Linked DNA regions of Homo sapiens: all the other regions are linked to region 3. Evidence: promoter capture Hi-C in 16 types of primary human blood cells and fetal thymus (Javierre and others, 2016). All regions are on one chromosome and are shown on one strand. The core of a region is centred on a gene start or on the middle of the fragment in contact, and the rest is flanking DNA. Distances in the headings are between cores, read along the strand shown.

Region 1 (3,317 bases), core at 207-2,706, 540 kb before region 3:
CTCTATTTTTTTTTTTTTTTTTTTTTTGAGACGGTGTTTCTTCTCACCTAGGCTGGAGTGCAGTGACATGATCTCAGCTCACTGCAACCTCTCCCTTCTGGCTTCAAGTGATTCTTGCATCTCAGCTACCCGAGTAGCTGGGATTACAGGTGTGTGCCACCATGCCCAGCTAATTTTTGTATTTTTATTAGAGAGAGGGTTTCGCCATGTTGGCCAGGCTGGTCTCGAAATCCTGACCTCAAGTGATCTGCCCGCCTCGGCCTCCCAAAGTGCTGGGATTATAGGCGTGAGCCACTGTGCCTGGTCAACTGAGTTCTCTATTCTGTTCCATTGGTCTATGTCTGTTTTGGTTACTGTAGCCCTGTAGTATAGTTTGAAGTTGGGTAGCATGATGTTTCCAGCTATGTTATTTTTATTTTATTATTTCTTTTTGAGACAGAGTCTTGCTCTGTCGCCCATGCTGGAGTGCAGTGGCACGATCCTGGCTCACTGCAACCTCTGCCTCTCGGGTTCAAGTGATTCCCGTGCCTCAGCCTCCCAGGTAGCTGGGATTACAGGCATGAGCCACCACTTCCAGCTAATTTTTGTAGTTTTAGTAGAGATGGGCTCTTGTCATGTTGGCCAGGTTGATCTCGAACTCCTGACCTCAGATGATCCTCCCGCCTTGGCTTCCCAAAGTCCTGGGATTACAGGCATGAGCCACTGCGCCCGGCCCAGCTTTGTTCTTTTTGCTTAGGATTGCCTTGGCTATTTGGGCTCTTTTTTGGTTCCATATGAATTTTAAAATACTTTTTTCTAGTTCTGTGAAGAATGTCAATGGTAGTTTAATAGGAATGGCATTGAATCTATAAATTGCTTTGGGCAGTATGGCCATTTTAACGATATTGCTTCTTGCTGTCCATGAGCATGGAATGTTTTTCCATTTGTTTGTGTCATCTCTGATTTCTTTGAGCAGTGTTTTGTAGTTCTTCTTGTAGAGATCTTTACCTCATGGTTAGCTGTCTTCCTAGGTATTTTATTTTCTGTTGGCAATTGTAAATAGGAGTGCATTCCTGATTTGGCCCTTGGCTTGACTGTTGGTGTACAGGAATGTTAGTGATGTTTTGCACTTTGATTTTGTATCCTGAGACTTTGCTGAAGTTGTTTATAAGCTTAATGAGCTTTTGGACTGGGAGTATGAGATTTCCTAGATATAGGATCATGTTGTCTGCAAACAGGAATAGTTTGATTTCCTCTCTTCCTATTTGGATGCCTTTTCTTTTCCTTCCTTCCTTCCTCTCTCTCTTTCTTTTCTTTCTTTTCCTTCCTTTCTCTCTTTCTCTCCCTTCCCTTTCCTTTTTCCTTTCCTTTCTCACCTCTTTTCTCCTCTCCTCTCCTCTTTTTCTCCTGCCTAACTGCCCTGGTCAGGACTTCCAATACTATGTTGAATAGGAGTGGTAGCAGAGGGCATCCTTGTCTTGTGCCAGTTTTCAAGTGGAATGCTGCCAGATTTTGCCCATTCAGTATGATGTTGGCTGTGGGTTTGTCATAGATGGCTCTTATTATTTTGAGGTATGTTCCTTGAATACCTAGTTTATTGAGTGTTTTTAACGTGAAGTGGTGTTGAATTTTATCAAAAGCCTTTCCTGCTTCTATTGAGATAATCATGTAAGTTTTGTCTTATTTCAGTTTGTGTGATGAAACACATTTTTTGTTTTGCATATGTTGAACCAACCTTGCATCCCAGGGATAAAGCCTACTTGATCGTGGTGGATAAGCTTTTTGATGTGCTGCTGGATTCGGTTTGCCAGTATTTTTTTGAGGACTTTTGCAATAATTGATTCTTTTTTTTTCTGTCTTATGTTATCCTTTGTTTCTGTTTTTATTCATTTTCAGGAGTTGCTTTTTCCAACTTTTTAATTTAATTTTAAATAAGTAAAACATTTACATTGTTCAGAAGTCAAAATTATATAAAAGTGACACTCAAAGTCTTGTTCCCATTCCTCTCTTTTCTACCTTTTCTTAACCTACTTCTTCTAAATAACCATTTTCATTAATTTCTGGTTTATTCTTCCTGTGTTACTTTATGCAGAAATAAGCCTCTATGCGTGTGTATGTGTGTGTCTCTGTGTGTCTGTGTGTTATGTTTTTCCTTTTATATAAAAGATACTCTTTCGGGCCAGGCGCGGTGACTCACGCCTGTAATCCCAGCACTTTGGGAGGCCTAGGCGGGTGGATCACCTGAGGTCAGGAGTTTGGGACAAGCCTGGCCAACATGGTGAAACCCCGTCTCTACTAAAAATACAAAACATTAGCCGGGTGTGGTGGCGAGCACCTGTAATCCCAGCTACTCGGGAGGCTGAGGCAGGAGAATCACTTGAACTCAGGAGGCGGAGGTTACAGCGAGCCGAGATCGTGCCACTGCACTCCATCCTGGGTGACAAGAATGAAACTCTGTCTCAATAAATAAATAAATAAATAAATAAATAAATAAATAAATAAATAAATGGATGAATGAATGAATGACAGATACTCTTTTGTATCTTGGTCTTTTCACTTAATAATATAGAAACCTCTACATTTCATTTCATATTCCTTGTTCTTCTTTAGCGCTGTATGGGTACTCTATTGCGTAGATGTAACATTCTTTATTTAACCTGTCTCCTAAGGAAAGGCAGTTAAATTGCTTCCAGTCTTGAGTTGTGAATAACACCGCAGTAAATAACCTTGTCCTTTAAAAAAATTATGTGCATAGGTGTCTTTTAAAGGTGAGTTCTCAGAACCAGGGCATATGTAATTTTTTTTTTAACCTGATGTGAAATCCCCCCTCAAAGGGGTTGTCACTCTTGCCACCCCACCAGCAATGTGTGAGCACTTCTGTTTCTTCACAGCCTGGCCAACAGAGGGTGTGTGAATCTTCTGAATTTTTGTTAACCTCATAAGTGAGAAATGGTGTTTCAGTGTCGTTTTAAATTTGTATTTCTCATATAATGAGTCAAGTGGAGTGTGTTTTCATATGCTTAAGGGCCATATATATATATATATATTTTTTTTTTTTTCTGTGAACTGTCTTGTCTTTTGCCCATTTTTCTACTGGATTATTAGCCTTTTTAGTCTTGATCTTTTAAGAGCTCCTCACGTATTATGGAGATTAGCTCCTCGTGATAAATTGTAGTTATTTCCTTTCCTTTATCATTTGACATTTGACTTGCTTGTGGTAGTTTTGTCGTGTGAAAGTTTTTTTTTTTTTTTCCTGAGACGGAGTCTCGCTCTGTCGCCCAGGCTGGAGTGCGGTGGCGCGATCTCGGCTCACTTCAAGCTCCGCCTCCCGGGTTCAC
Region 2 (3,778 bases), core at 451-2,950, 630 kb after region 3:
CAGAGGGGAGGACCTGGGCACAGAGAGGGCCTTGGGCTTCCCCGACCCCCGCAGGGGCTTCCGCTCGACAGAGAGGCTGGAGCTGACTCCATGCGCGCGGCGCGTGTTCCCCACGTGAATCCTCAGCAGATGCGTTCCCCTTCCTCTAGGCTGGGAAGATGGGTGGTCACTGCCCTCCTGCAGGCTCACCAGCCCTGAGCGGCAGACCTTACCTGCCAGGTGACCTGCCCAAAGCCAGGTGGGCCCCTCCAGGGACAAGAAAGTCCTGCAGGCAGACGTCCTGCTGGGCTGGCCGATGGCAGGATCCTCCAGGCCAGAATTCCCACCCAGGATTTGCGGCTTGCCCTCGGGAACAGACAGAAGGGGCGCCCAGAATCTCAGCACTCACCCCCGACCTCCACCACAGCACCCCATCCCCTAACCCTCCCTGTCCCCAACCTGCCAGCTTAGAAGGGCTTCCCTGAAGGAGAAGCTGATCTCAGAGGCTGCCCCAGAATTTCTGGGAGAATGAACAGAAACTGTTCTTCCTGCAGAGCTGAGGCCAGATCCAGAGACAGGGGTTGGTTGATAGAGGCCACCCCAGCAGAGTGCCCCACGAACGGAGCCAGAGGTCTCCCTGAGCCCTCCAGGCCAAAGGAGGGATCCAAACTTTGAGTCCTGGGGTTCTCAAGGGTGGCAGGGAGTGGAGGGGAAGCCTGACAGGCGAGCCTTGAGTCAGCTGAGAACTATGTGGGCAAACGAACCCCTGGGGGCTCCCGCCTCCCTCCCAGCTAGTCCTCCTCCTCATGACCCAGCCACTCATTTAGAGGCCACACCAGCTGGGCCAGTTTCCTAGGTGGATTGCCAGGCTGGGCTGGGTGAGGAAGGGTGGGGAGGAAAACAGCTGTGCTTGTCAGGGACGCCGCCATCTCAACCGAGAAATGCTGAGGCCCAGGTGCCCTCAGCTGCTCCTCAAGGTCTCTTTGCCTGGGGCCCCCACGTTGGACTGTGAAGAGCCTCAGGTTGGGTCTAGCCTGAGTCATTCGGGGATAGCTATTGGCTGTTTATTGAGGTCCGTAAGTCAACCAACACCTTTCAATGGAAAACAACAAAAACCTCCAGCAATTATCTCAACTAAGTGGTGGTCTGCACCCAGCTGTGCCCACAGCTGAGCCCCCAACCTCCCTCAACCTATACCCCTCTGGGCAATTTGCTGTCTTGGTGGGGAGGGAAGAAATAGCAGTCTACGTTTTATCTAGTTCCTAAATGCCTGCAGTGCTGGTCATTTGGGGACCGCTGGGGAATTGGGCCCCACTACAGGGGATATTTGGGACATAGAGAGGGCTGCTTTAAAAGCACTTGTGGGCTTCTCTGTGCTCATTTCAAGATTACAGAAGTGGCCAGGCACGGTGGCTCATGTCTGTAATCCCAGCACTTTGGGAGGCCGAGGTGGGTGGATCACAAGGTCAGGAGTTCGAGACCAGCCTGGCCAATATGGTGAAACCGCGTCTCTACTAAAAATACAAAAATTAGCCAGGAGTGGTGGCACGTGCCTGTAATCCCAGCTACCTGGGAGAGACAGAAGATTCGCTTGAACCCGGGAGGCGGAGGTTGCAGTGAGCCGAGATCGCGCCACTGCACTCCAGCCTGGGTGACAGAGCGAGACTCTGTCTAAAAAAAAAAAAAAATTACAGAAGAGCACAGGTGCTATTGGAGGGGAGGGATACAGATGGATTCCATGGGGAAAATATTTATTATAGGAATAAAAATAATGTTAAATTTGCAAAGACTCCAATGAGTCTCTTTTAACCTCAGCCAGGCTGTTTTAAACAGTGTCATGAATTTCTGGGAACCTGGTTCTAGTCTTTTCAGATTCTGTCGTATTTGCCAAAAGTTTCTTTCAACATACTCTCAGTGTTTTTGTATGTTCAATGGTGACCTGTAGCTGCAACTCCTTTTATTGTCAGAGAATGCCAAAAGCTATTTTTAAAATAAAGGTATATATTTTCTCAAAGATTCCAGAGACTCTGCAATTTATGTGGGAAGCTCCGAGCCTGGACTTGAAGGACAATTCACTTTAGGTGAAAAAGTTTGATGCGGTGTCTCACTCCTGTAATCCCAGCACTTTGGGAGGCCGAGGCAGGTGGATCACGAGGTCAGGAGTTCGAGACCAGCCTGGCCAGTATGGTGAAACCCCATCTCTACTAAAAATACAAAAAATTAGCCGGGCATGGTGGCGCACGCCTGTAATCCCAGCTACTCGGGAGGCTGAGGCAGGAGAATCGCTTGAACCTGGGAGGTGGATGTTGCAGTGAGCCGAGATCATGCCACTGCACTCCAGCTGGGTGACACAGCGAGACTCTGTCTCAAAAAAAAAAGAAAGAAAGAAAAGAAAGAAAGGAAAAGAAAAAGTTTGAAATGCAAACAGAAATGGCTCTTACACATCTATTCAACCACAGTTGCAAAAGAAATTAAAATTAAAATTTGGCTGGCATGCCATTTTTCACCTATGAGCTTGTCGAAACCTGGAAGCCTCATAACCCACTCCGCTACTGAAGCTGAGGGAGGCAGAGGAATGGTTAGTGGGAATGTGTATTATTAAAATCCCTATCAAGGGCAATGTGACATTATCTACCAAAATTTCTGCTTTGCTCCAGCAATTCCTGTTCTAGAAACATCCTACAGATATACTTGCATGTATGGGCAGCAGCATACATGTGATGCTATATAATTGCAGCATTGTTTATAAAAATAAAGGATTGGAAAAACCCTAAATGCTAATCAATAGGGTACTGGTTATCTATCTTAAGGTCCAGGGAATATCATGCAGCTGTAAAAGAAAAAAAAAAAAAGAACAAGAAAGGACTCAATAAACTTATATGGAATGTCTCCAAGGTACAATGGAAAATGAGGAAAAGCAAGGTGTGGAACACCGGATACTGGATACTACAATTTGTATAGAAAGAGCAGGAAATAGGCCAGGCACAATGTCTCACGCCTGTAATCCCAGCACTTTGGGAGGCCGAGGCGGGCGGATCACCTGAGGTCAGGAGTTCAAGACCAGCCTGGCCAACATGGTGAAACCCTGTCTCTACTAAAAATACAAAAATTAGTCGGGCTTGGTGGTACGTGCCCGTAATCCCAGCTAATAGGGAGGCTGAGGCAGGAGAATTGCTTGAACCCAGGAGGCGGAAGTTGCAGTGAGCTGAGATCGCACCGTTGCACTCCAGCCTGGGCGACAGAGCAAGACTCTGTCTCAAAAAAAAAGAAAAAGAAAGAAAGGGGGGGGAATAAGAATTTACATTCCTATTTGCTTACTTATGCATCAAAAAAGTGGGAATGCAGGGCACGGTGGTTCATGCCCAGCACTTTGGGAGGCCAAGGTGGGAGGATCACTTGAGGCCAGGAGTTCAAGACCAGCCTGGGCAACATAGTGAGACCCTATCTCTATTTTTTAAAAAAAATTGTAATTACCTTGTGGTGGCGCACCTCTGTAGCCCCAGCTACTCAGGGGGTTGAGGTGGGAGGGTCCCTTGAGCCCAGGAGGCTGCAGTGAGCTATGATTGCACCAGTGTACTCCAGCCTGAGCAACAGAGTAAGACCTTGATGACAGAAAGAAAAGAAAGACAAGAAGGGCAGAAGGGAGGGAGGGAGGGAGGGAGGGAGGAAGGAAGGAAGGAAGGAAGGAAGGAAGGAAGGAAGGAAGGAAGGAAGGAAGGAAGTTGGGAAGATGTACAAAACACTAATAATTCTGACTAGCCATGGAAAGGAATGAGAAAATGATGGAATGGGAAGGGGA
Region 3 (3,626 bases), core at 606-3,105:
TGGCGCGCTGCCAGGGCCGGTCGTAGTGGAAGGGCTTGCAGCGGTCGCACTCCGGGCCGGCCGTGTTGTGCCTGCAGTCGCACACCAGGCTGTCGTCGCGGTCGCGCACGCAGCGGGCCGCGTGGCCGTTGCACTTGCACCGGCCGCCCACCTGCAGGTCGGACACCGCGTAGAAGTACGAGTCGCGCGCCAGCTCCGAGTCGTCCTCGTTCTCGTCGCCGAACGTGTGCAGGCGGCTGAAGGCCACGCGGATGTCTGTGGCCGTGACCCAGTCCTGCAGCACGGGCGAGTTGTCGAAGTCGTGCGCCGAGGGCCGCCCGTCCAGCGTGCTGAAGGCGATGAGGCCGCCCGAGAGCGGGCGCATGTCGGTGTGCGAGTCGGTGCACACGGCCTCCTGCTCGTTCTGCTTGGTGATGGGCGCGCGGTGCGGCCGGTTGTACATCTTGCGGCACTGCGTGGAGTAGAACTGGAAGGGCACCCACGTGCGCCCGTAGTCCATGGACTTGTAGATGGCCATGGACTCGGGCCGCGGCGAGCAGAACTGCAGGCTCACGTAGGTCACTTCGAACTTCTTGCCGAGGGACAGTGTGAGCGTGACGTTGTGCGGGAACTGCAGGTAGTTCTCGGACTGCCAGCACGTCAGGTTGTGCGGGTTGTTGAGGTCGGTGAGGAAGGCGGGCGGGTGCGCCTTCTTGGGGTCGGACGCGTTGCAGAGGTGGCACGAGCGCAGCCGCTCCTCGCCGCGCTCGCTCACCACGCAGTAGCGCGCCGGGGGCCGGCCGCAGGTGCTGGACACGCGCACGTCCTTGCCGAAGGCCGCATTGACAAAGTCCGGGATGCAGCGGCGCGGGTGGCCGTTCTCGTCCGAGCAGGGATCGGGCTGCGCCGCCTGGCCCGCGAACATGCTGAGCCCGGGCCCGCCGCGCACCGCGCCCACCAGGCACGCCACCGCCGCCAGCGCCGCCAGCGCCTCCCACACTGCGCGCATCATGCTGCGTCCAGCTTGCCCCGGCCCTGCCGCGCCGAGGATCTGTCCGCCTGCCGCAGAAGGCGCCTGCGGAGAGAAGGGAGCTGCGCTCAGCCAGCCCGCCCCGCGCCCTCCAGCTCTCGGCGGGGTGGCGAGCGGAGATGCGGGAGAACGCCCGGCTTCCTGGGCACCCACCCCGCAGCCGACTGCCCGCCTCTCTCCCCCAAAGTCCCGCGGGCGGCGAAGCCGGGGCCCTCCAAGTCCGCACCGCTCGCGCCCCTTCTTCCCCGCCCGGCGGGAGAACGCTCTGCTTCCCCGCCACCGCCGCCCCCACGCCGCCCGAGGGGCATGCCTGAGCCGGTCTCCCCGTCCGCGACCAGCCCCCCTCGCACCCCAAGTTTCGGGCGCAGGAGAGCTGGGGGACCCCGACTCTGCACGGCCCGCGCCCCTTCGTCTCGCAGCCCGGGGTCCCTCTCAGATGCCCCCCGATCGCGTCCCCGCCGGAAAGTCCGCGTTCGGGACTTTACCTCTGGAGGGGGCAAAAGAGAAAGAAAAGTTTGCCTGGCCCCTCCGGGGAGCCCGCGCGCCGGTCGCCGGAGAGCCTCTCGCTCGCTGCTAGCAGGCGCGTCCCGCCTCAGCGCGGGCTTGCCAGCTCCATGCCCGGCGCGGCCGCCGCTGCCCCAGCCCCAGCCCCGGTCCCGGCCCCGCCGCCGCCTCTCTCGCCCGAGTGACTACGCGGCCGCCCGGCTCCCGCCGCTCCCGCCGAGCTCGGAGTGCTGCCCTGCCCGCGCCCGGGGCGCACACACACTCACGCTGGCCGGCGCGCACTCACACACACGCGCGCTCGCCCCCGAAGGCTCCGCCGCCGCCGCCACTCGCGCTGGGAGTGAGGGGCGGAGGGGAGCGCGGGGGCGGGGGGCGGGGCCGCCGGGCGGGGCGCCGGCCAATAACGTCCGCGAGCTGCCGCCAGCTCCGAGCAAAGTTTTCACCCCGGGAAAGAAGAAAGTTAAAGGGAACCGGCCCGGACGCCCGAGAGGGAGAGCACAGGCGGGTGGGAACCCGGGAGCCCGAGAAAGAACAGCAGAGACAAAGAGAAAGCGAGGAGAGCACCCGGGGAAACCCCGGAGAGGGGGCTGGGCCGGGCCAGGCGCGCACCCCGTGGGGGAGGAGGGGCCGCCGGGGACTGTCAGCCTCGCCCGCGCCCCGCGCCGCCCGGAGAGCCTCACGCCCGGGGGAGCGCGCGGGCGGGGGAAGGGGGCCACTTTCTCCCTCCCGGTCCCAGCCAAACACATCTGTGTTTGTTTTCTTTGCTGCGCGGAGGTCGGGCCTTCCTCTAACCCAGCCTGATGGCCCCCGGTGGCACCGCGCACAGGGCTGTGCCCCTGTGGGCACGCAGCCCGGGAGCGTGAGGAAGAGGAGGAGGATGTGACCTCTGCCTGCTCTCCATTTTTGCCCGAAGCCCCCGGGGTCCGGCGAGGAGGGGCTGCTCGCCCGCACTCCCACGGATATCACCGTGCGTGAGCCTGTCTGTCGGGAACGCGGCTTCGTTCTAGCCAAGGGAGCAGTGGTGGGCAGGAGGCTGAAGGGGTAGGAAGCTGGCAGCACCTGGACGCTGGCCACCGCCCCTCCAAGACGGGCCTGCCTGGTCTCAGGCATGGGGACAGCCCAGCCCTCCCCAGATCCCCTGAGGCAGGCGTATCGGTACTTCCTCAACCGCATTTTTAAGGGTGCAAAGCCCTGTAATAGCTCATGGGACCTCCACAGCAGCTTTGCTGTTGTATTAACTCCATTTTGCAGATGAGGAAACTGAGGGTCCCGGGAGCTGAAGAAACTCGCACAAGATCAACCCCCAAGTAAACATCAAAAACAGGAAGAGAAGCCTGGGCTCCTTCCACTGCAGGGCATTCGTCAAATGCATAACCTTGCCGAATGATGGTGTCATGGGGCATCTGCGGGGCCACCCAGCCCCTCCTTGCCTCATTCTCCATCGCCCCAATAAAAAGACTGAGGACAGTGACAGCATCCTTTGGTCATCTTGCAACAGCAGCCAGAGAGCTCTGGGAAAGGAATACACTGGGCCGAGAGTTTGGAACGGAATCTCTGCTCGTTTATTTGTTACTTGTAGATGTGTGGTCCAGTAATAGACCCGGATGAAAAGCCCCAGGTCCTGGTTCCGGCCCAAGGGCTGCCTTGCTGCATTAGCTCCATTAAGTGCCTCAGTTTGTCTTATTGGCATTTTCATAAACCCTGAGAATCTAAGAAGGGGCCTCGGGGCTCGTCTGGCCCAGCTCCGTCTCCTTGGAAGAAGGCCTTCCCCAGCCTCCCAGAGAGACGGCCACCCAAGCCAGCTCTTCCAGGGATGGGAGCTCACCACAGCTCAAGAAAATAAATCCATTCCATTGCAGGACAGCCTGGATTCATCTTCTTACCCCGGGGTAGCAATTTAGCTGTGCCTTCTTGTGCCGTTTACCACACTCTGCACTGTTTATTTATGCCTTACCTCACCTTGTGGCAGAAAGGATTTCAGGTAACTTACAAGGGTACATAAAATATGACACAATAACAAATTAAAAGTGAGGTCAAAGGAAATAAATGAAATGGTTAACCATGGTGACCTGTGAAATCGCAATGGTATACTGAAAGGCAGCATAGCTCTTAG
Region 4 (3,553 bases), core at 900-3,399, 610 kb after region 3:
ATGATGGTCAAGGCTGGTTTCGAACTCCTGACTTCAGGTGATCCGCCCACCTCGGCCTCCCAAAGTGCTGGGATTACAGGCATGAGCCACTGCGCCCGGCCAACAATTTTTATAATAGGGAAAAATTGGAAACAACCTAAATATGAATCAACATGAGATTAATTAAGCAAATTACTACATCTATTTAAAAAGAGGATCTAAAAGAATGTTTATTGGGATTAAAAGTTAACAATTGAAAAAAAAAAAAAGGTCCCAAAAGCATTCATACAATGTGACCTCATTTATCTTAAAAATAATTATATATCATATGTATAAATACAACTATACATTTTAACATAATTATATATTATATGGCTATATATATATATGCACGCTGGAATAAACACCAAAATATTAATGGTAGTTTTCTGTAGAAGTGGTGTACAGCTTGTATTGTGTGTGTGTGTGTGTGTGTGTGTGTGTGTGCGTGTGTGTTTATGTGTGTGTTAAAATTTTCCACATTTTTTTTCAATAGTAGTGCTATTTTTATCATCCGAAAATAAGATTGTTCTTACTCTGAACTCTGTCCCTGACCCGGGCCTTACCTGTCTCAAGAATTGAGGCCTCCTAGCTGTCCGGGAGGATTTAAGCCCTGGGATGAACACTGCCAACTCAGAAAATCCTCCAAGGCGGCCAGCTCACGTCAAGCACTGTTTCTCCAAATGCTGCCGTGTCCCTGAGAACAAACCTCTCCACTGTCTTGGTGGCTTCCCTCCCCCGCCTGTCCTGAAGCATCTCTGCCCCGGGAGTGGGTCACTTGACAACAGTGAGAGGGAATCCGTGAGGTGGGTGCCAGGAGTGCAGCCCCGCGCTGCCCCGGCTGGCACAAGCTTGGGCCATGACTCAGCCCCTTTCTGCTCACCTGGTGTCCCGCCCTGCTGTCTCCACTTCCTCCCCAGCCCGCACCCTCGGGTCACCGTCCTTCCTTGCTAGTTTCATCCTGTTGAAAGAGTCCAAGCTACTTTTCTCTGAATTCTTTTGTTTGATCCACTTCAGTGGTTTCCCATCGAAAGGGCTCTCGGGTCAAGCATTTCACCCGGGCCTTGGGCTCAGCCACGGAAAGTTCTAGAGTCGCCTGTTTCTAGCTCTGGGATCCCAAGTTTCTGTCCCCTGCGTGGGCGCCAGCTCTCACCCACTCGTGCCAGAGTCCGCATGAGTGGCACTTCAGATGGTACACAAGTGAACCTTTTTATACTTAGAAGTTTGCATTAATTAATTAAAGTTTGTACCGTTTCATGAATTAATTGAGACAGAGTCTTGCTGTGTCGCCAGGCTGGAGTGCAGTGGCTCAATCTCCGCTCACTGCAACCTCCACCTCCCAGGTTCAAGAGATTCTCCTGCCTCAGCCTCCCGAGTAGCTGGGACTACAGGCACGCACCACCACGCCCGGCTAATTTTTTGTATTTTAGTAGAGACGGGGTTTCACCATGTTGGCCAGGATGGTCTCAATTTCCTGACCTCGTGATCCACCCACCTCGGCCTCCCAAAGTGCTGGGATTACAGGCGTGAGCTACCGTGCCCGGCCCCTAATTATATTTTTAAGGTACAGACACTTATATTTGAGGCTGTTAAAGGTATGAATGCTTATGTTTAAGGGTTGTGTTTTGTTTCGTATTTTTTCCCAGGCTGGACTGCAGTGGCGCGATCTCTGCAACCTCTGCCTCCCAGGTTCAAAAGAAATTCTCATGGCTCAGCCTCCCGAGTATCCGGGATTACAGATCCGCTCCACCACACCTGGCTAATTTTTGTATTTTAGTAGAGATGGTGTTTCACTATGGTGCCCAGGCTGGTCTCTAACTCCTGAGCTCAAGCGATCCACTCACCTCCGCCTCCCAAAGAGCCAGGATTACGAGTGTGAGCCACGGTGCCAGGCCAGGCCATGTTTAAGATATTTTTAAGAAATGGATGTTTTTGCTGGGTGCCGCGGCTCATGCCTGTAATCCCAGCACTGTGGGAGGCTGAGGCGGGCAGATCACTTGAGGTCAGGAGTTCGAGACCAGTCTAGCCAACATGGTAAAACTCCATCTCTACCAAAAAATACAAAAGTATTAGCTGGCCGTGGTGGCAGGTGCCTGTAATCCCAGCTACTTGGGAGGCTGAGGCAGGAGAATTGCTTGAACTTCGGGGGCGGAGGTTGCAGTGCGCCGAGATTGCGCCACTGCACTGCACCCCAGCCTGGGTGACAGAGTGAGACTCTGTCTCAAAAAAACAAAAAAAAGAATGGAAAGTAGAATGACTGTGTTGCTCAAACACCCCCTTCACCTCACTACTGGCCCAACACACATGAGTTAGGCTTGAGAAGGCAGCTTTTTTTTACTTAAACATTTATTGGGCTCTAATAATACTGGGTCTTTGTGCCAGAGCCTACAGAGATGTGTGAAATAGGATCTCCCTTCATCGAGGTATTAAAAGATATAGAGGAAGGCCAAGGGCGGTGGCGCACATCTGCGGCGGGAGGAGGGTCAAGGGTCATGTACACACACACTAAAAACATAAAAATTAGCCAGGCGTGGTGGCACATGCCTATAATCCCAGCCTCATGCTGAGCACTTTGGGAGGCCGAGGCAGGCAGATCACTTGAGGTCAGGAGTTCGAGACCAGCCTGGCCAACATGATGAAACCCTGTCTCTACTAAAAACACAAAAATTAGCCAGGTGTGGTGGCGCATGCCTATAATCCCAGCCACTCGGGAGGCTAAAGCAGGGAGAATTGCTTGAACCCAGAAGGTGGAGGTTGCAGTGAGCTGAGATGGTGCCACTGCACTCCAGCCTGGGCAACAGAGCGAAAACCTGTTTCAAAAAAAAAAAAAAAAAAGATGTAGAGGAGATGCCAGGAGAGATGTAATGAGGTAGAAAGGCATTCCAGCCAGGAAACAACCCCCAAAAAAAAGCATGAAAAAAAGATCACAGAGGCCCACAAGCCCAGGGCCTTCAAGGGACCTGAGCTGGAAGCCAGAGCTGTGGCCATGCTGTGTAGCAAAAGATAGCCCAGCAGAGGGGCTGGCTGGAGCAAGTCTCCAGAGAGCAGTGAGGGCTTCATGGGCTCCCTGAGTATGGGCTGTGCCTCAGGGCAATGGGGAGCCGAGGAAGTCTTCAGAGGGAGGGGATGGGATGGGGTGAGACCTGTGGCCACTGCATATTGTTGGGCTGGGGAGCTTGGGAACCAAAGCAGGTGAATTGGGAACGAAAATCAGTTCCTATTCTGCCTGCCAAGCCATGTGCCCTGACACAGCCAGAGAAGAAAGAGGGCCTTTTTCCAATTAACTTCCTAGAGGGAGGCGCCTCTATGTGTTCTGTTCAGAGGTCCAAGGTGTCCCCGGTTCTACCAGCAGTCCTGGGCTATGTAATAATGGGGCAGAGCCCAGGAGGGTGAAACAACAGGGAAGCTTGGGGCAAAGCAAACACTTGAGCTGGCTGGAGCAAGCCAGGCCAGAGCCGACAGCTGCAAATGGGTGGGGAGACCCTCAGGGCTGCACCAACCCAGGGTAATCCCCTGGTCTCACTGTGGAGACTGC
Region 5 (3,627 bases), core at 184-2,683, 510 kb before region 3:
ATCTTTTACACACATGGTAACATATCATACATAGCATTCTGCAACATTCTTTTGTCACCTGATCGAATATCTTGGAGATTTTCCCAATCGTGACGTAAGGTTTTGTCATTAGTTTTTGTAGCCTTATAATATTTCATTGTATGCATTTACTGTCATTTAACTAGGCTCTTATATATATGCGAGTATTGTTTTCAGTCTTTTTCTATTACAAAAATATAGTAGAGGGATTTTGCATATGTGAAAGTATATCTCTAGGTGAGTTCTTAGAAGTAGGATGGCTGGAGGATGGGCACGATGGCTCACGCCTGTAATCCCAGCACTTTGGGAGGCCAAGGCGGGCAGATCATGAGGTCAGGAGATTGAGACCATCCTGGCTAACACGGTGAAACCCCGTCTCTACTAAAAATACAAAAAATTAGCCAGGCGTGGTGGCGGGTGCCTGTAGTCCCAGCTACTCAGGAGGCTGAGGCAGGAGAATGGTGTGAACCCGGAAGGTGGAGCTTGCAGTGAGCCGAGATTGCGCCACTGCACTCCAGCCTGGGTGACAGAGCAAGACTCCGTCTCAAAAAAAAAAAAAAAAAAAAAAAAAAGTAGGATGGCTGGGTCAGAGGGTATGTGCGTTTGTAATTTCAATAGCATTTCACAAGTTATTTTCTAGCGGGGTAGAACCCCTCTAGACTTGTGCCAGCAATTTAGGTGAGTGCCTGTTTTCCAACAGTCTTTCCCAAAGAAAGTTGTTAAACTTTTGTATCCTACTCCAGACTAACATATAAAGAGAGTTTTATATAGTAATATCTTAGTAGAGTTTTATGTAATTATTATATATAACTATAGTGAACCAAGGTTATAAAGAAATTCTCCTGTGCTTTTTTCTGGTACTTCTGTGGTTTTATAACTGTTAAATCTTTGATCCATTTGGAATTTAATTGGTGAAGAGTATGAATCCTACGTTTTTCCTACTTGGCTCTATTCTATTTTTGTGACTGACGATATTTTTTACTTAGTAGTTCATCTTCTCATCTTCAGATGTAAGATGCTGCATTATCATAGAATACGTTCCCATATGTATTTTGATCTATTTCTGGACTTTGTAATGTGTTCCATTGGTCCTTCTGTCTACTTATGTGCTAGTACCACATTTTCTAAAATATGGATACTTTAAGTTTTAATATGTGATAGGACAAATCTGCCATTAAACTTCTTTTTAAGAGTTTTGCCTTTTTTTTTTGAGACAGAATCTCACTGTGTCGCCAGGCTGGAGTGCAGTGGCGCAATCTCGGCTGACTGCAACCTCCGCCTCCTGGGTTCAAGCAATTTTCCTGCCTCAGCCTCCCAAGTAGCTGGGATTACAGGTGCGCACCACCATGCCCAGCTAATTTTTGTATTTTTAGAAGAGACGGAGTTTCACCATGTTGGCAGGATGGTCTCAATCTCTTGACCTCATGATCCGCCTAGCTCGGCCTCCCAAAGTGCTGGGATTATAGGTGTGAGCCACCACGCCTGGCCGAGTTTTGCTTATTTTTTAACATGAATTCTAGAATCAGCTAATGTAATTCCAAAAGAGAGAACAACTTTTAAAAACAATTGGGATTGTGTTAAATCTTGAAATCCTTTACAATGTTGAATTTTCTCATCCAAGATTGTGGGATTTGTTTGTTTGTTTGTTTGTTTGTTTGTTTCTCCAAGGCATTTTTCAGGTCTTTCAGTAACGTCTTCTTCACAAAAGTCTAACATGTTTTTGGTCAAATTTATTTGTTTTTTTTTTAATCTTTTTGGTTGCTGTTTTAAATCCAGGTTTTTTAAATTGTACTTTTCTATTGTTGTTGTTTATATGAAAACTATCAATAATTAATGTCCGTTATTAATATTAAAGCCATTTTCTTAATTCTCTAATAGCTTTTAGCATTTTTTTATCTTGGCTTTTTTTGTATTTTTCAGTTATTTCTTTTTAAAGAGCAATGAAATGCTTCCTGGAAGCTGCCTAATTGACTCTGGCTCAAAATAGAAATAGACTATTGTATCACATGATCATGTTATACCAAAAACGATGGGAGAATGGGGTTGCTGTGGTTGACTAGGTTAGTTCAGGAGGGAGATATTCTTGAGCTGAAAATGAGGATGAGGTTATGGTCTCTGAGCAGTGGAGCCCTGAACAAAATTGAGGTTCTGATAACAAGGAAGATGAGACATACTGATGTTGGGTAGGCAAGTTGTAGTGTCTGTATCAACCCTTCTCTGCAACTCCCTAAGCAATAGCAACGCTGTTCTTGAAGTTTCTTGAAGAACCAGAGACTCAAGGTTCAATTCTTTGACCTCATTAAGAACCTTCTTTCTTGTCACTTCTCCTTTTATTGAAATCCCAGAGAGTTAGTCACTCGCTGGCCTTTTGGGTTGTTTTATTTAGGCTCAAGTGAACCTTAGTCATTACTTTAAGTCTTCAATTCACTTTTTAAAGAAGCTGGGATGTTTACACCTATCACTTGTCTTCCTGAAGAGGCTTAGGAGAAGTACTTTTGAAGTGCAAGCGGTTTTTTTGTTTTGTTTTGTTTCGAGATGGAGTCTCACTCTGTCACCCAGGCTGGAGCAGTGGCACGATCTTGGCTCACTGCAGCCTCTGCCTCCGAGGTTCCAGTGATTCTCCTGCCTCAGCTCCCAAGTAGCTGGGACTACAGGCACATATCACCCTGCCCAGCTCATTTTTGTATTTTTATTAGAGACGGGGTTTGACCATGTTGGCCAGGCTGGTCTTGAACTCCTGAACTCCGGTGATCCACCTGCCTCGGCCACCGAAAGCCGTGGCATTACAAGGCGTGAGCCATCGTGACCAGCCTGCAAGCAATTTTAACGTGACACATTGATACAGTTTCATAGAGCTGGTTTCTTCTGCAGACAGATAATCTTGTATATATTTTGTTAATTCTTGTTTAATTCTATTTTGAGAAGTAGTAGCTTCTGACTTTTTCTACACATTCTGGTGAAATGTTAATAGATAATTTGGTGCAAGGACTGATAGAATGACAAAGGGAGTATTTGAAGTAGGAACTGATAAAAAAAATTTGGAATATATGTTGCCTTAGCACATTTTTTTCCAGTCTTTATGCTGCATCATCTTTTTTTTGCTTCACAGTATATATTGAAGACGATGAAGCAGAATGTTTAGGGTAATACGCTTAACTAATGGTCTGATACCAGCCATATAATGTGTACAGTGACCATGTTTTTCTTGGAGAGAGAAACTAGATATGTCATATGATGAGGTATTTTTTGGGACTCTTCTTGGTGGAAGAGTCGGTTTGGTTGATAGTGTTAGGTCAAAATGTTGACCATTCCAGTGGTTTATGGGAATGAATATTTGTTTTTGAAGAATGTTTTTTAAATATAAATTTATTTTTAAAGTAATTTGTTACATTGTTAAACTGTACAAAATTGTAATCAATGAAAATTCAGGCTCTTTCTACTTCTCACCTACAGTTTCCCATTTTCTTCCCCAGAAGCAGCCACTTTTAACAGTTTTCTGTGTGTGTGCCCTTCCAGAAGGATTCTACACGTATCCAAGGATACATGCACGGGCCCATATCCCCAGTCTCTATTCCAACTTGTTTGTGTTTTTTAAAAAAACAGGAATTA
Region 6 (3,845 bases), core at 855-3,354, 540 kb after region 3:
TTCACTTTTTTTCTTTATACCTAAGTTTATATTCTTTTGATGGTATTATAAATGTAATTGCTTTATTTTGAATGTTCATAGTTGGTGTATAGAAATATAATTGATGTTTGTATGTTGATCTTGTATCCCGCAATCTTGCTAAACTCATCAATTAGTTCTTGTGGGCTTTCTTTTCTTTTACTGTCCATATTACCAGCAGTTCTAATTCTTTCAGTGTCTTCCTTAAGATTTTCTATATACAATATCAGATCATCTGCAAATTGAACTAGTTTTACTTCTTCCTTTCCAATCTGGATATCTTTTATTTCTTTATCTTGCCTAATTAATTACCCTGGCTAGAATCTCTATTGCATTGTTAAGTAGAAGTGGCAAGATCAGACATCCTTGTCTTGTTGCTCATCTTTTAGAGGGAAAGCATTTGGTCATTGATCCTTAAGTATGATATTGGCTGTCAGTTTTTCATTGATGCCCTTAATCAGAGTTGAAGAAATTTCCTTCTGTTCATAGCTTGTTGAGCATTTTTATATTGAAAGGGTATTAGATTTTGTCAAGTGCTTCTTCAGCATTTATTGTGATGATCATATGGTTACATTAATTCATTTTTGGTTGTCAAACCAACCTTGCATTCCTCAGATAGATCCTGCTTGGTCATGGTGTATAATCCTTTTTACATGTTGCCAGATTCAGTTTGCTACTATTCTGTTGAAGATTTTTGCATTTGTATTCATAAGGGATTTCATTTTGATCTGTAGTTTTCTTACGATATCCTTGTCATTCCCATATACTTTTATATTTACAATGAATGTATATTACTTTTATAATCTAGAAAAAAAATACCATGTTTACAAGCTAAGAATGGGGCCAGGCACCGCAGCTCACACTTGTAATCAGGAGCAATGCTTGAGGCCTTGAGTTTGAGATCAGCCTGGGCAACACAGCCAGGGCTCATCTCTAAAAAAATTTTATTTTAACTAAAACTAAGAATGTAAACCACCCCAAAACCTTCTTATTTAATCTTAGGCTCAGATGAAGGATTACCAACGTGAATTAGAAGAAGCTCGTGCATCCAGAGATGAGATTTTTGCTCAATCCAAAGAGAGTGAAAAGAAATTGAAGAGTCTGGAAGCAGAAATCCTTCAATTGCAGGAGGTTGGTTTGTTACTTATCCATTTGTTCAACAAATATATTTGCCCTTGAAATTTCTCCAAGATCAAAAAAAAGTTAATATATTTGTAGCCCACTGTAATGTCAGTATACATTTTTGTTTTTTATTTTTTTAAGTATCCATTTTTAATATGGTCCTCAACCTTCTTGTTGCTTCAGTTTGGAAACAGAAAGTTATCACTTCGACACTGCTCACATATATTCCTCTACCTGGCAAAAGGCAAAGGAGCTGATGAGTAGCTTTTCAGGCCACCTTCTTGGCCTGTTCCCCTGTGCAGGAAAGGGAAGTGTTGATAAGCACAAGAACTGTGTAACTCCAACCTTGGTGATGCAAAATTGCCTTGTTTTTACACAGAAGCACTACTCATGTGATAACTTAAAAGGAGAGAAGTTTGTTTCATTGAATTCCTGTTATTCCTTCATTTATCTTTCTTGTAAGTTCTCATGAAGCAGAGACTGATAAAGTGTTGCATATAGGAACTGTAACAGTGCAAGGCACACTTAAATATACACATTACCGTATAAATGATGGATAATCAACATTTCTTCAAACCTGAAAAGGTAAGTTAAATGTTATTATCAGTTAATATGAAAAAACTCCCAATACAAACACCTATAAATATTGGATAAAATATTAGCAAAGGCAGAGTTGAGCTTGCAAGAAAGGAGGACGGCTCTCTAGGTGTCAGGAATGAACAAGGAACTCAAAACCAGATCAGTAAACACGGAGCCGACCCTGAGAGAGAACCTGAGAGCCAGCTTCAAGAGGTTTTCGTCCTGCTGTCCTCTATCTCACCATTTTTTGCTCCTTTTTTTTCTGACTTCTTGAGTTGGACACTTAGCTCATCAGCTCTCAAGCTTCTTGTCTGATATGTTTATAAAAGACTGTAAATTCCCCTCTAAGATCGGTTTTCATCATGTTCCACAAATTTTGATGTGGAGTAATTTCATTGTCATGTAATTCTAAATTTTTCTAATTTCTATTATGGTTTCTTCTTCATCCTGTGAATAATTTAAGCTTGCGGTTTAAATTTCCAAATGTATGGCATTTGCTTGTTTTTTAAGTTGATTTCTAGTTTTATCACATTGTGGTCAGAGAATGCTGAGAAAGAGCTCTGGGACCTAGAACACGTTAGTTTTTATAAGTGTTCCGTGGGTACTTAAAAATGATGCATGTTCATCAATGAAGTAGATGTGTAAGCTCTATGTATCCATCATGGAGTTGATTGGTGAGATCCCCAAATGCTCATTTCCCCAAAGGCGATGTGGCTGTTGGAGCCTGCCTCCTAGAGAGCGCTCCTGGGCCATTACCCAAGTGTCCAAGAGGCATTCTCTGTACCACACTGTTTTTTCTGAAAGTGTTTCTTTCAGACTCTCAGGCAAGGCCTGACTCACACTGCATTAGGGAGAAGAGACTGAGCTGGAAAGCTGGCCCTGCCCTTCCCCCTATTTCTGACACTTTTCCTTCCCTCAAACACCTCCGTTCATCTGGCTTAGAGGCCCCGGGGTCCCTTCCTTTCTCCCGTGGGTCCCTCAGTCTGCCTAGAGCCCCACCCCCAAGCCAGTGGACAGTGAGTGTTTCATAGGCCCAAGAAGACAAAACACCAGAGGCCAGATGGTAGAGCTGTCTGGAGTCAGTGGCCCTGGGATCAGGCCTGGAACATTCCGTCAGCTGCCTCTCTTTCCTTCCTGACTCCCACCCTGCCCTGTGTGCCAGGATGTGCTAGAACCCAGGCCTGTCAGAGGACCTTCAGCCTACACTCATGTAAGGCAGGTGCACGTGCTGGAGCAGACAGAGGAGCTCCCGTGCAGCCCTGCTCCTAAGACACCTTCAAGGTGTGCTCTTGCCAAATGTGGCATCTTTTGGAAGGGGCAGCTGGTGGGAAGAGCCCTGGACAGGGAGTAGGAACCCTGACTTTTTGCTGCTGACTAACCTTGGGACTTTGGGCCAGTATCTTCATCCAGGTGGGCCTCAGTTTCCTCATTTATAAGATAAATGCACCCTTGACTCCTTTCCATGGCAAATCATCCTTCCAAAGAAGTTTGTGGAAAAGCAGCCATCAGGCAGTTCCTCCCGTGGGCTGGCAGGCACAGGGCTGTCCCCATTGTCCAGTCCTCTGAGAGCCCCCTGTGGAGCCACAGTCCCCTTCAAGAAAGAGGCCTTGCCCACCTTAGAGGCCCAGCTCTGCAAACACTTGAGCCCCTGCGGAGGCCCCCACCTGCCTCCTCTCCATGGGAGCATTGATCCTTGTTGCGGCACAGCTGCCTGGATCCGCACTGGTCTGTGCAGCCAGCGTCCTTGATCTCAAACTGTTTATGTGAAAGATACTTCAGGGCCATCAGTTGGTATAGCTCATGTTTCTTAGGGTTCAGGGTTTATATAAAGTTCATGCTCAGTTTATATTAAGAAGCACCAGCTTTCCAAGAAGGGCAGGAACATAGCCACCTCTTACGTTGGAGGTGACAGCAAAGCCCTTATGGCAATGAAGACTTTCCTCTGGACATCTGTGTCAGATGCTGACACCACACACCACCTGGCTGGCCTGCACCGAGCAGATTTTCTTGACAGTTTAATTTCTCAAATCTAAATGACAGCTTGAGGTGCAGGTAAACAGTGACAGGAGCAAGGTCGCTGTAGCTCCAGGCACTGTCAGATTCCACAGGTGAGGAAACTATTCACA

The links. Contacts are between HindIII fragments. The CHiCAGO score rates a contact against its expected background, and 5 or more counts as called.
Region 1: a contact is called between a fragment that was not itself captured here and the fragment with the promoter of NTN1 in region 3, in 1 of 17 cell types (endothelial precursors). The highest score is 5.4, in endothelial precursors.
Region 2: a contact is called between a fragment that was not itself captured here and the fragment with the promoter of NTN1 in region 3, in 1 of 17 cell types (naive CD8 T cells). The highest score is 5.8, in naive CD8 T cells.
Region 4: a fragment that was not itself captured here is called in contact with the fragment with the promoter of NTN1 in region 3 in 3 of 17 cell types (naive CD8 T cells, total CD4 T cells and naive CD4 T cells); the score reaches 6.8 in naive CD8 T cells.
Region 5: a contact is called between a fragment that was not itself captured here and the fragment with the promoter of NTN1 in region 3, in 2 of 17 cell types (endothelial precursors and megakaryocytes). The highest score is 7.4, in endothelial precursors.
Region 6: a fragment that was not itself captured here is called in contact with the fragment with the promoter of NTN1 in region 3 in 2 of 17 cell types (naive CD8 T cells and naive CD4 T cells); the score reaches 5.5 in naive CD8 T cells.

What each region holds. Positions count from the first base shown.
Region 1 is chr17:9,562,323-9,565,639 of GRCh38, reverse strand. All of the region lies in intron 2 of STX8 (syntaxin 8), which reads left to right. Among named protein-coding and RNA genes, the nearest start is that of STX8, 12 kb to the left of the region's middle. The HindIII fragment of the contact is 606 bases long and covers 1,154-1,759 here.
Region 2 is chr17:8,388,919-8,392,696 of GRCh38, reverse strand. RNF222 (ring finger protein 222) reads left to right here. Exons shown (of 3, transcript NM_001146684.3): 3 at 1-1,995. Among named protein-coding and RNA genes, the nearest start is that of RNF222, 7.0 kb to the left of the region's middle. The HindIII fragment of the contact is 6,206 bases long and covers 1-3,778 here.
Region 3 is chr17:9,019,739-9,023,364 of GRCh38, reverse strand. It overlaps NTN1 (netrin 1), which reads right to left and starts at 1,855. Exons shown (of 7, transcript NM_004822.3): 1 at 1,780-1,855; 2 at 1-1,054. The coding sequence starts at 991. RefSeq lists silencers at 1,604-2,393, 2,444-2,493 and an enhancer at 1,914-2,457. The HindIII fragment of the contact is 7,248 bases long and covers 1-3,626 here.
Region 4 is chr17:8,405,877-8,409,429 of GRCh38, reverse strand. No RefSeq gene overlaps it. Among named protein-coding and RNA genes, the nearest start is that of RNF222, 9.8 kb to the right of the region's middle. The HindIII fragment of the contact is 2,555 bases long and covers 872-3,426 here.
Region 5 is chr17:9,532,388-9,536,014 of GRCh38, reverse strand. The region is part of intron 4 of STX8 (syntaxin 8); the gene reads left to right. Among named protein-coding and RNA genes, the nearest start is that of STX8, 42 kb to the left of the region's middle. The HindIII fragment of the contact is 5,861 bases long and covers 1-3,627 here.
Region 6 is chr17:8,481,442-8,485,286 of GRCh38, reverse strand. MYH10 (myosin heavy chain 10) reads left to right here. Exons shown (of 43, transcript NM_001256012.3): 37 at 1,021-1,149. LOC107987245 (a long non-coding RNA gene) reads right to left here. Exons shown (of 2, transcript XR_001752780.3): 1 at 3,099-3,845; 2 at 1-1,717. Among named protein-coding and RNA genes, the nearest start is that of NDEL1, 47 kb to the right of the region's middle. The HindIII fragment of the contact is 160 bases long and covers 2,025-2,184 here.